4 separate regions of the Homo sapiens genome follow, and regions 1, 2 and 3 are each linked to region 4. Evidence: promoter capture Hi-C in human tissues and cell types (Jung and others, 2019). All regions are on one chromosome and are shown on one strand. The core of a region is centred on a gene start or on the middle of the fragment in contact, and the rest is flanking DNA. Distances in the headings are between cores, read along the strand shown.

Evidence for each region. Contacts are between HindIII fragments. The study calls those that stand out against the background at their distance.
Region 1: the fragment with the promoter of SHD here is called in contact with the fragment with the promoter of ZFR2 in region 4 in 2 of the 25 tissues and cell types used here (liver and spleen).
Region 2: a fragment that was not itself captured here is called in contact with the fragment with the promoter of ZFR2 in region 4 in 1 of the 25 tissues and cell types used here (stomach).
Region 3: the fragment with the promoter of TMIGD2 here is called in contact with the fragment with the promoter of ZFR2 in region 4 in 3 of the 25 tissues and cell types used here (lymphoblastoid cells, pancreas and stomach).

The regions. Positions count from the first base shown.
Region 1 is chr19:4,277,888-4,280,587 of GRCh38, forward strand. It overlaps SHD (Src homology 2 domain containing transforming protein D), which reads left to right and starts at 1,379. Exons shown (of 6, transcript NM_020209.4): 1 at 1,379-2,473. The coding sequence starts at 2,177. The HindIII fragment of the contact is 14,506 bases long and covers 1-2,700 here.
Region 2 is chr19:4,136,011-4,138,710 of GRCh38, forward strand. No RefSeq gene overlaps it. Among named protein-coding and RNA genes, the nearest start is that of MAP2K2, 13 kb to the left of the region's middle. The HindIII fragment of the contact is 7,667 bases long and covers 1-2,700 here.
Region 3 is chr19:4,300,727-4,303,645 of GRCh38, forward strand. It overlaps TMIGD2 (transmembrane and immunoglobulin domain containing 2), which reads right to left and starts at 1,663. Exons shown (of 5, transcript NM_001169126.2): 1 at 1,614-1,663. The coding sequence starts at 1,659. RefSeq lists an enhancer at 1,124-1,669. The HindIII fragment of the contact is 29,023 bases long and covers 1-2,919 here.
Region 4 is chr19:3,867,549-3,870,364 of GRCh38, forward strand. It overlaps ZFR2 (zinc finger RNA binding protein 2), which reads right to left and starts at 1,490. Exons shown (of 19, transcript NM_015174.2): 1 at 1,417-1,490. The coding sequence starts at 1,469. The HindIII fragment of the contact is 14,046 bases long and covers 1-2,816 here.

The DNA.
Region 1 (2,700 bases), core at 129-2,628, 410 kb after region 4:
GTGAGCTGAGATCGCAACACGGCACTCCAGCCTGGAGGACAGAGCAAGGCTCCGTCTCAAAAAAATAAAAAGAGAGACTCCAGTGCCACCCTAGGCCAGGCCCCACGGCGATGTGCAGGCAGAATCAGCTGTGGAGTGGCTCTGAACAAGTCCCTCCCATCTCTGTGCCTCGGTTTCCCCATCCATAAAATGAGGAAGCCAGGTGATAGCTCGGTCCCTCCTGGAATCCTTCCTAGAGCTGTCTGGGATTTCCTGTTAGAAACCACATCTTTCAAATAAGGAAAACCAAGACTCAGGGAGTGACAGACCCTGCCCTCAGCCCCGCCGGGCTGCCAGGAGGCCCCAGTCATAGCAGTGTTGGTTCTGACTTCTGTCTTGTCCTCCAACTGTGCTCTCCAAGCTATGACCTGTGCCTGACCAGGGGGCTGGCCACAAGAGGAGAGAATCTGGGGTCCCATCCTTCCTGACCACCCCTCTCTCACTCCCCTCATTAGGAGGAACTGGGCAAGCCCCCTTATGGGGAAAGAAAAAAAACGGTTCTGCACTGGAAAATTGGCCAGTGGCTCCCTTTTCCTCTCCCACCCCCCAAACCTCTCAGTGCCCTCACCCTCAGACAACGACAGCTGACAACAGGCAGCCAGTTCAGGCCAGACCCCTCTCACTTCTGCCCCTCTTCCCGCCACCGCTCCCCCCCACCCCGCCCCCAGAAGCCACAAAAGGACAGATGCAGAGGACAGGCGCCAGGCACAGATACCATCTCCCTTCCCCAAGCCAGCTGCCCCCAACCCTCCCCCTGCCCGCAATTAGTCCTCTGGGGCGGGAGCGGGGCACAGAGCAGAGCCCTCTTGGGGGAGGGGAAGCCCGATCCGCACCCACCCTTCCTTTGCCCCCCTCTTCCTTCTGCTGCTCCAATATCAATTTCAGCCAGTGACCTCTCCACCAATTTGCACATCCCCACTCTCCCGGTCCGTTTCACCGCCAGACATCGGTTCCATTTCGACCCTCACTGGCGGTCATTCCCACCCCCTCTGCTGGTCAATTTCACCCCTTTTGGCGGTCAAGTGCAGTCCCCCATTTCCCGGGCAATTTCCCCCTCCCCTCCTTCTCCCTCTCCCCTCCCCTCCCCAGCAGTGTCACTCCCAGCTGCTCCCCACCTCCCGCGCTCCGCGCTCGCTGCGGCCAGTCTCGGGCGTCCCGGTCAGTGTCCAGCTGCCGCGGCCTCGGCCCCGGCGACTCCCGCCCCCAGCCCCCCTTCCCTCCGCGGGCAGCGGCTCCCTCCCTCCCCAGAACAGCTGAAGGTCTCAGTCACCTCCGAGGGGAGCGCAGGGGGAGGGGAGGGGCGGGGGACGCGGCGGAGGGGAGGTGGGGGAGCCTTGACGCTGCTGCCCGGGACGCGGCCCGGGGCTGGTGGGAACAGGGGCGTCCTCCTGCGCGCCCCCCTCCCCAGCGTCCCACCTCCCGGCGGCGGCGGGGAAAGTCTCTCCGAAAGCGTGAAGGGGGATTGGAGGAGGTTTTTATTTCCCTTTGTGCGGGTGGCTGGGGCCGGATCGAGGCGGCGGGGGCCGCGGGACTGGGGGCTCCCCGCTGAGCCGAGAGGAGCGCGACAAAGGATGCGTCCCGCCGGGGTCACAGTCTCCGCGGCCCAACTTTGCGCGCGGCGCCCGCGCCCCTGGGGAGCCCGCCCGCTGCGCTGAGAACCCAGGCGTCCGGGCTGGGAGAGGGGCCGGGAGCGTCCGCAGGTGGCGCTGGCCCGGATCTCCCGACCCCAGGAAGGGATCCCGGAGCTTCCTGGAGGCGGCGGGCGGCCGTGTCGCTCCAGGGAACCGCGCTGCCCGCGGAAACTCCGCGCGCCTCCGCGGATGCCCCTCGCCCTAGCCCCCAGCGCGCGGGGTTCGGGGCCCTGCGAGGTCCCCCCTTCCCCCGCGGTGCTTCCCAAGCTGGGCTAAGGCGGGCTTCTCTTCCTCCCTCCTCTGTCGCCTCCTTTTCCTCCCCCTCGTTCACCTTTTCCTTCCCTCTATCCATCCAGAGCCCCGCCAAAGGGCGCACCTGATCTTTCTCATCCTTCCCTGCTCTTCCCTTCCTCTCCACCTCCTCCTCCTCCTTGGGGAAAGGGGCCCGGAGAAGGGCATGTGGGGGCCCCTCTGACAGTGGCCCGATTGGGGTGACAGGCGCCCAAATGGCCAAGTGGCTACGGGACTACCTGAGCTTTGGGGGTCGGAGGCCCCCTCCGCAGCCGCCCACCCCGGACTACACCGAGAGCGACATCCTGAGGGCCTACCGCGCGCAGAAGAACCTGGACTTCGAGGACCCCTATGAGGACGCGGAGAGCCGCTTGGAGCCGGACCCCGCGGGCCCTGGGGACTCCAAGAACCCCGGAGATGCCAAGTATGGTTCTCCCAAGCACCGGCTCATCAAGGTGGAGGCTGCGGATATGGCCAGAGCCAAGGCCCTTCTGGGCGGCCCCGGGGAGGAGGTGCGTGGCTGGGTGGCCTGGGGAGACTGGGTGGAGGGGAGGCTCAGGATGGGCTCTCTGGATCGTGGAGAGCTTATTTTATGTGTGATCACAGGAGGGGACTGGGGCACCAGACAGACCCTTCCCAGTCCTCCAGACCTCCACCTGCTTGGGGAAGTCTGTTCTTTTTATGTATTTATTTATTTTGAGACAGTCTCCCCCTGTCACCCAGGCTGGAGTGCAGTGGT
Region 2 (2,700 bases), core at 102-2,601, 270 kb after region 4:
TGGCGCAATCTCGGCTCACTGCAACCTCCGCCTCCTGGGTTCAAGTGATTCTCCTGCCTCAGCCTCCCGAGTAGCTGGGACTACAGGCACATGCCACCACGCCTGGCTAATTTTTTGTATTTTTAGTAGAGACAGGGTTTCACCATGTTGGCCAGGATGGTCTTGATCTCTTGACCTTGTGATGCACCTGCCTCGGCCTCCTAAAGTGCTGGGATTACAGGAGTGAGCCACTGTGCCCAGCCTAGAGTTGTTTTATGACTTTGTGCCACGTCCTGGCCGATGGATGCTCATGATGACATTTATTTTATCGCTCTGCAATCAAAGATTTGTGCAGATGAATGGGAACTGCGAGAGAACATGGGAAAATGAAAGGGGTTTAATTGCGGGAGGGAAGGAAAACACATAAAATGTATTTTTTCGCTTTCCCATGATTTATTTATTTATTTTTATTATTATTATATTTTGAGATAGAGTCTCGCTCTGTTGCCCAGGCTGGAGTGCAGTGGCATGATCTCGGCTCATTGCAACCTCTGCCTCCTGGGTTCAAGCGATTCTCCTGCCTCAGCCTCCCGAGCAGCTGAGATTACAGGCATGTGCCACCAAACCCGGCTAATCTTTGTATTTTTAGTAGAGATGGGGTTTCGCCATGTTGGCCAGGCTGGTCTCAAACTCCTGACCTCAGGTGATCCGCCCACCTCCACCTCCCAAATTGCTAGGATTACAGGCGTGAGCCACCGCGCCCGGCCTTACCAAGTTCTGATTGAAGTGAAATGCCTGGAAGAAAGATAAAGTTAAAATGAGGTTTTCACAACATGTCGAAATCACTCTGAGCAAAGTTCCAAACCCAAGGTTCTAGAAAGTGCAATGACTTTTTTTTTTTTAAACAGGGGCAATTAAAAATTTCCCAGGCTTAGCAAGATCAAATGGGTGTGTGCAGCGCTCTCTCTGACATGCAATTTATGGAATTATTGATTTGTCAATGTGATCTCTGCACTTCCTGTGAGGAATTTGAGGTCCTGTTTGGAGAATTTGGTAAATAGGGAATCTCGCAGAAACATGGGGTCTTGAGAAACTCATTTCAACCCTCTGAGCCTCAGTTTCCACTTTTCTTTTTTTCTTTTCTTTTCTTTTTTTTTTTTTTTTTGAGACGGAGTCTCACTCTGTCACCCAGGCTGGAGTGCAGTGGTGCAATCTCGGCTCACTGCAAGCTCCGCCTCCCGGGTTCACGCCATTCTTCTGCCTCAGCCTCCCGAGTAGCTGGGACTACAGGCATCCGCCACCACGCCCGGCTAATTTTTTGTGTTTTTAGTAGAGACGGGGTTTCACCATGTTAACCAGGATGGTCTCGATCTCCTGACCTCGTGATCTGCCCACCTCGGCCTCCCAAGTGCTGGGATTACAGGCATGAGCCACCGCGCCCGGCCTTCACTTTTCTTTTTTTAGAAAGACAGGGTGTCTGTCACTCAAATTGGAGTGCAGTGGCATGATCATAGCTCACCACGGCCTCTAATTCCTGGGCTTAAGTGATCCTCTCACCTTAGCCTCCCAAGTAGCTGAGACCACAGGCATGTGCCACCATGCCCTGCTAATTTTTAAACTTTTTGTAGAGACAGGTTTCACTTTGTTTCCCAGGCTGATCTCAAACTCCTGGGCTCAAGCTATCTTGTCACCTTGGCCTCCTAAAGTGCTGAGGTTATAGGCGTGACCTATTATGCTGGCAATAAAATAATTTAAAACAAATTTTTTAGAGACAGGATCTCACCTGGCACCCAGGCTGGAGTGCGGTGGTGCAGTCATAGCTCACCGCAGCTTCCAACTCCTTGGCTCTGGTGATCCTCCCACCTCAAGCCCCTGAGTAGCCTGGACTACGGGCACTTCCCACCATGCCTGGCTAATTTTTAAATTTTTTGTAGAGACAGGGACTCCCTGTGTTGCCTAGGCTGATCTTGAACTCCTGTGCTCAAGCAATCCTCTCACCTCAGCCCCTCAAAGTGCTGGGATTACAGGCGGGAGCCACCATGCCCCGGCCATAAAATCAGTTTTTAACTCAGGCTGTACAACAATAGGCAGTGAGCTGTGGGCTCTAATTTGCCCACCGCAATACAGGCTGTGATTATATTGGGAGGCATTTGGGACATGAAACATGGTCATGTTTGTTTGTTTTGTTTTGTTTTGCTTTTGGCCTTGTTCTTTTTTTGTTTTGTTTTGTTTTGTTTTGTTTTGTTTTTTCAGAGAGTCTCGCTCTGTCACCCAGACTGGAGTGCAGTGGCGAGATCACGGCTCACTGCAAGCTCCGCCTCCTGGGTTCACGCCATTCTCCTGCCTCAGCCTCCCAGGTAGCTGGGACTACAGGCACCTGCCACCACGCCTGGCTAATTTTTTTTTGTATTTTTAGTAGAGACGGGGTTTCACCGTGTTAGCCAGGATGGTTTCAATCTCCTGACCTTGTGATCCGCCCCCCCTCGGCCTCCCAAAGTGCTGGAATTACAGTCGTGAGCCACCGCACCCGGCCAGCCATGTTCTTTATTATCAAACTACTGTGAGTCACTTTTCTTAAGGTTCATTGATTTGACACATTTTTATTGAAACCCTACTAAGTGCCAGGCATTGGATGAGACAAAACCCCTGCCCTCACAGAGTTTACAGTCTGGGGGAGAAATAGGCCACAGATAAGATGCCAGGAAGAGCCACAGAGATGAA
Region 3 (2,919 bases), core at 413-2,912, 430 kb after region 4:
GCAGTGCACAGCCCATGCAAAGGCCCTGGGGCAGGACTGTGCCTGGCGTGTTGGAGGAACAGCGAGGAGGCCCGTGTGGCTGGAGCAGAGTGAGGACAGGGAGAGAGGGAGGAAGGGTTGGGCAGGGCCTGTGAGCCTTGGGGTGGTGTGGGGAGGTGAAGGAAGTTAAGCAGTTTATGTTTTAATGTAAGTGTGATGGAAAATCAGAAAGCAGGGAAGAAATAGTCCAATTGAAGTTTTTGTTTTTGTTTTTGTTTTTGTTTTGAGATGGGGTCTCACTCTGTTGCCCAGGTGGGAGTGCAGTGGTGTGATCTCGGCTCATTGCAACCTCTGCCTCCCAGGTTCAAGTGATTCTTGTGGCTCAGCCTCTTGAGTAGCTGGGACTACAGGCACTCGCTACCACGCCCAGCTAATTTTTGTATTTTTGGTAGAGATGGGGTTTCACCAACATGGCCAGGCTGGTCTGGAACTCCTGACCTCAAGTGATCCACCTGCCTCAGTCTCCAATTTAAGTTTTAATAAAAAGACCTTGGTTGGGTGTGGTGGCTCATGCCTGTTATCCCAGCCCTTTGGGTGGCCAAGACTGGGTGATTGCTTGAGGCCAGGAGTTCAAGACCAGCCTGGGCAACATAGTGAGACCCATCTCTAAAAAACAAAAATGACTGGGCACGGTGGCTCACGCCTGTAATCCCAGCACTTTGGGAGGCCAAGGTGGGTGGATCATGAGGTCAGGAGTTCGAGACCCACCTGGCCGAGATGGCGAAACCCCGTCTCTACTAAAAATACAAAAAAAATTAGCCAGGCGCAGTGGCGCGCGCCTGCAGTCCCAGCTACTCGGGAGCCTGAGGCAGGAGAATCTCTTGAACCTGGGAGGCAGAGGTTGCAGTCAACCGAGATCGCGTCACTGCACTCTAGCCTGGGTGACAGAGCAAGACTCCTTCTCAAAACAAAACAAAACAAACAAACAAAAAAACACAAATGAACAACAAAAAAGTGCAAGCGGCTGGAATCAGAGGAGAGGGAAAGAGGAATGGAGGTTTTCGCCCCAGGAAATGTGTGAAGGGCAGCAGCCTTTGTCCTTAATTGGAAACACAGAGGGAGCTGCTGCCGGAGTAGAAAGTCTGCTTTTAGCTGTGAGAAGTCTGACGTGTCTGTTAGACCCCCGGAGAAGTTGAGGTTATGTGAAGTTCCTGGCATTTGAGATGCAATTGCAGAGGAGGGTAGAGACATGAGATCTGGAGAAGGGTATTAGGCAGCTGGAACAGCAGGTGCAAAGGCTCGAAGGCCAGATCCAGCCTTCCCATTGCGGAAACAGAGAAAGAAAAGTCCCCAGGCTAGAGCAAGAGGGAGGGAGCAAAGGCACTGCGGAGGGTGGAGATGAGAGAGGCCAGGCCAGGCTGGTATGTAGGGCAAGGTTTAGATTGTATCCTAGGGGCCCTCAGAGGATCCTTCCTTAATCCTCCAGCCCCCATCACGTTCTGAGTCTCGGAGGGAGATGGGCCTTATCTGACAGTAGAGAGACTGAAGTTTAGAGGGGCCCTGAGCTGGGGGGCAGGCAGCTGGGGATGACAGCAAGAGTGGGGTTCAGAGGGGAGGGAGGCCCAGATACTCACCCCAGATCTGCACCAGGAGGCCCAGCACCATGCCCGGGGACCCCATTCCTGGCCCATCACCCCCCTCTCCCCCTCCCAGTTGACAGACTTCCTGCCACAATCTCCGCCTCCCGCTGCAGAAGCAGATGCAACACCCAGGGCCAGACAACAGACGTCCGGTGTTCCAGCCTGCTGGGGGCTCCACTTCCTGCCACCTCGTGCCTCAGTTTCCCCAATGCATTTTCTATCTGAAAGGCAGTGTACGGACCAGGCAACATGGCTCATGTCTGTAATCCCAGCACTTTGGGAGGCCGAGGCAGGTGGATCACCTGAGGTCAGGAGTTCGAGACCAGCTTGGCCAACATGATGAAACCCCTACTAATTTCTACTAAAAATACAGAAATTAGCTGGACATGGTGATGGGCGCCTATAATCCCAGCTACTTGGGAGGCTGAGGCAGGAGAATGGCTTAAACCCGGGAGGCGGAGGTTGCAGTGAGCCAAGATCACGCCACTGCACTCCAGCCTGGGCGACAAGAGTGAAACTCCGTCTCAGAAAAAAAGAAAAGAAAGGCAGTGTATGCAAGTGAGTGGGAGGAATCCACCCCTGTGAGCTTTCTGGAAGGCTCTACATAAACACATCTAGGTACAGGAAGACACAGTGCGAGAGCAGGTGGCTCCGTGGGGGAGGGGCAGGCGACATAGGCCTGAGCAGTGAGTTAAATGACAGGGTCCCTGCCTCAATTATTTTGCTCCCAAAATGTCTTTCTTTTGCTGGGCGCTGTAGCTCACACCTGTAATCCCAGCACTTTGTGAGGCTGAGGTGGGAGGATCACTTGAGCCGAGTTTAAGATCAACCTGGGGTAACACAGCGAGATCCAATCTCTATTAAAAAAAAAAAAAAAAAAAAAAAGATACAGGCTGGGCATGGTGGCCCAGGCCTGTAATCCCAGCACTTTGGGAGGCCAAGGCGGGTGGATCACCTGAGGTCAGGAGTTCAAGACCAGCCTAGCCAACATGGCAAAACCCGGTCTCTACTAAAAATACAAAAATTAGCTGGGCCTAGTGGTGGGCGCCTGTAGTCCCAGCTACTCAGTGGGGTTGAGGCAGGAGAATCGCCAGAACTGGGGAGATGGAGATTACAGGGAGCCGAGATCCTGCCACTGCACTCCAGCCTGGGCGACAGAGTGAGACTGTGTCTCAAAAAAAAAAAAAAAGATACAAAACCAACCCAGGGTGATGGTGCATGCCTATAGTCCCAGCCACTCGGGAGGCTGAGGCAGGAGAACCGCTTGAGCCCAGGAGTTGGAGGCTGCAGTAAGCCATGA
Region 4 (2,816 bases), core at 240-2,739:
CAGGATCCTTTCTCTCCCTCCCCTCCCAAACGACCACATATTTAAGACCTAGAAAAGGATCTTAAATATCACAACACTCAGGGCCCTTTCTCCCTCCTCACTGTCCCAGCAGGGTCCCAGTTCCCTGGAAACCCAGGTGCCCACCCTCTTATTTGACCTCAGGACCTCCTCCCACATAATACTGGCTTCCCGCCAAGTCTCTGTCCCCCTTCCCCAGTCAGGCCTCAGTTCCCCACCAACCTCGGTTTCCGCCCCTCCCTGGGGTAACCTCCCAGGTCTCTGTCTTCTCTCCTCCACCCCACATCAGGGGTCAGGTTCCCACCCCTACTCCACACCCCACCCCAGGTCTCTGCCCCTGCCTGCTAGGTACCCTCCCAGGTCTCTGCCTTCTCTCCTACCCCCACCATCAGGGGTCAGTGCCCTCCACACTCGAATGTTGCTGCCCCCTGCCCAGTCGGGAAACTTCCCAGGTCTCTGCCTTCTCCTCCTCCAGCAATCGGGGATTAACGCCCCTCTGCCCTTCCCCTCCTCCTGCCCAGCCAGACACCCTCCCAGGTCTGAATTCTCTCCCCCTACCAGCAATCGGGGTCAGCTCCGCTCTAGCTCTCCCCCTGTCCAGCCAGACACCCTCCCAGGTTTCTGTCTTCTCTCTTACCCCCATCAGGGGCCAATTCCTCACCCCTCGACTGTGGCTTCCTCCTGCCCAGCCAGGAACCCTCGCTGATCTCTGTTTTCTCCTCCCCTACAAGTAATCGGGGGTCAGCTACCCTCTGTCCATCCCCCTGCCCGGCCAGGCACCCTCCCAGGTCTGTGTCTTCTCCTCCCCCCGCAATCGGGGGTCAATGCCCCTCTGCCCTTCCCCTCCTCCTGCCCAGCCAGACACCCTCCTAGGTCTGTGTCTTCTCTTCCCCTACCAGCAATCAGGGGTCAGCTCCCCTCTGCCCATCCCCACCCACTCCCCGGCCAGGCACCTCCCAGGTCTCCTCCCTGCATTGGGTCAGTTCCGTCCCCTCCCCTCCTCGGTCAGACCACCCACCCCCCGCCCGGGTCTGTCCCCTCTCGCTGCCCTCCTCGTGGCGCCCCCATCAGGGGCTGACCCCCCCGACCCCGCACAGGCCCAGGCCCAAACCCAGGCCCCCTCCCACTTCAGGAGCCCCCTCCCGCTCCCGCCGACAGACACCGTTGGCTGCAGAGACGTCTCAGCCGGAGCCCCGGAGCCCGCATCCCGCCCGGTGCCTAACCTGAGGCCGCCCCGCCTGCTTCTCCCGGCGCCGCGGCTTCCCTCAGGCCGGGGTTCCAGGTTGGGGCTGGGACTGGGGCCGGGCCGGGCGCACGCGGCGGGAGAAGGGGTAGGCGGGGTCCCGGCCAGGCTGCAGGGGCCGGGACTGGCGGGGGCTGGCGCGGCGGGGCAGTTACCTGTACTGCGGGCCGCCGCCCTGCGCGAAGTCGAAATACTGACTCGTCGCCATCTTGGCGTCTTCCCCGAGCCTGGCGGACCCGCGACGTCACCCGCCCCGCCCCCGAGCCGCGTGCCGCTCGCGCCTGGCCACGCGCCCCAAGCTCCGCCCCCTGCGCGAAGCCCTCACCTTCTCGCTTCCTTCTCTTAGGCTAGGGAGACACCGCCCCGCGACCACACCTGCCCCGAGGCCCCGCCTCCTACGCAGAGCCCCGCCCTCCTCTTAACCACTCAAATGTGGAGGTCTCTGCTCAAGCCCCGCCCATGCTAGAAGCCCTGCCTCTTTCTCGGAGCCCCACATTCCCTTTAACCACTCAGATGTGGTGGTATCTGATCAAGTCCCGCCCATGCTACAAGCCCCGCCTCTTACTCAGAGCCCTGCCTTCCCTTTACCCACTCAGATGTGATCTCTGCTCAACCCCCACCCATGCCACAAGCCCCGCCTTTTTTTGGAACCGTACCTTCCCTTTAACCATTCAGGTGTGGAGGTCTCTGCTCAAGCCCCACCCATGCCACAAGCCCCGCCTCTTTCTCGGAGCCCCGCCTTCCCTTTACCTGCTCAGATATGGTCTCTGCACAAGCCCTACCTCTGTCTCCGAGCCCCACCTTCTCTTTAACCACTCAGATGTGGAGGTCTCTGCTCAAGCCCCACCACCACCACAGCCAGCTAATTTTTAAATTTTTTGTAGAGACAGTGTCTTGCTATGTTGCCCAGGCTGATGTTGAACTCCTGGCCTCAAATAATCTTGCCTTGGCCTCCAAAAGTGCTGGGATTACAGACGTGAGCCACTGCATCTAGCCTCAGAATGACTCTTCAGAAGGCCCCCATGGTCTCTGCCTCCTGTGTTCACAACGTGATATAAATAAATGATAGGCCGGGCACAGTGGCTCACGTCTGTAATCCCAACATTTTGAGAGGCGGAGGCAGGAGGATCTTGAGCCCTAGGACTTTGAGACTAGCCTGGGCAACATAGCAAGACCCTGTTTCTACAATTTTTTTTTAATTAGCTGGTCATGGTGGTACATGCCTGTGGTCCCAGCTACTCAGGAGGCTAAGGTGGGAGGATCACTTGAGCCTGGGCTGTCAAGGCTGCAGTGATCTGTGACTGTACCACTGCACTCCAGAGTGAGACCCTGTCTCAAAAAAGAGAAAAGAAAGAAAGGGCTGGGCGTGGTGGCTCACGCCTGTAATCCCAGCACTTTGGGAAGGCGAGGTGGGCAGCTCACCCAAGGTCAGGAGTTCAAGAGCAGCCTAGCCAACATGGCAAAACCCTGTCTCTACTAAAAATACAAAAAAAAAAATTAGCCAGGCGTGGTGGGGCACACCTGTAATCCCAGCTACTCGGGAGGCTGAGGCAGG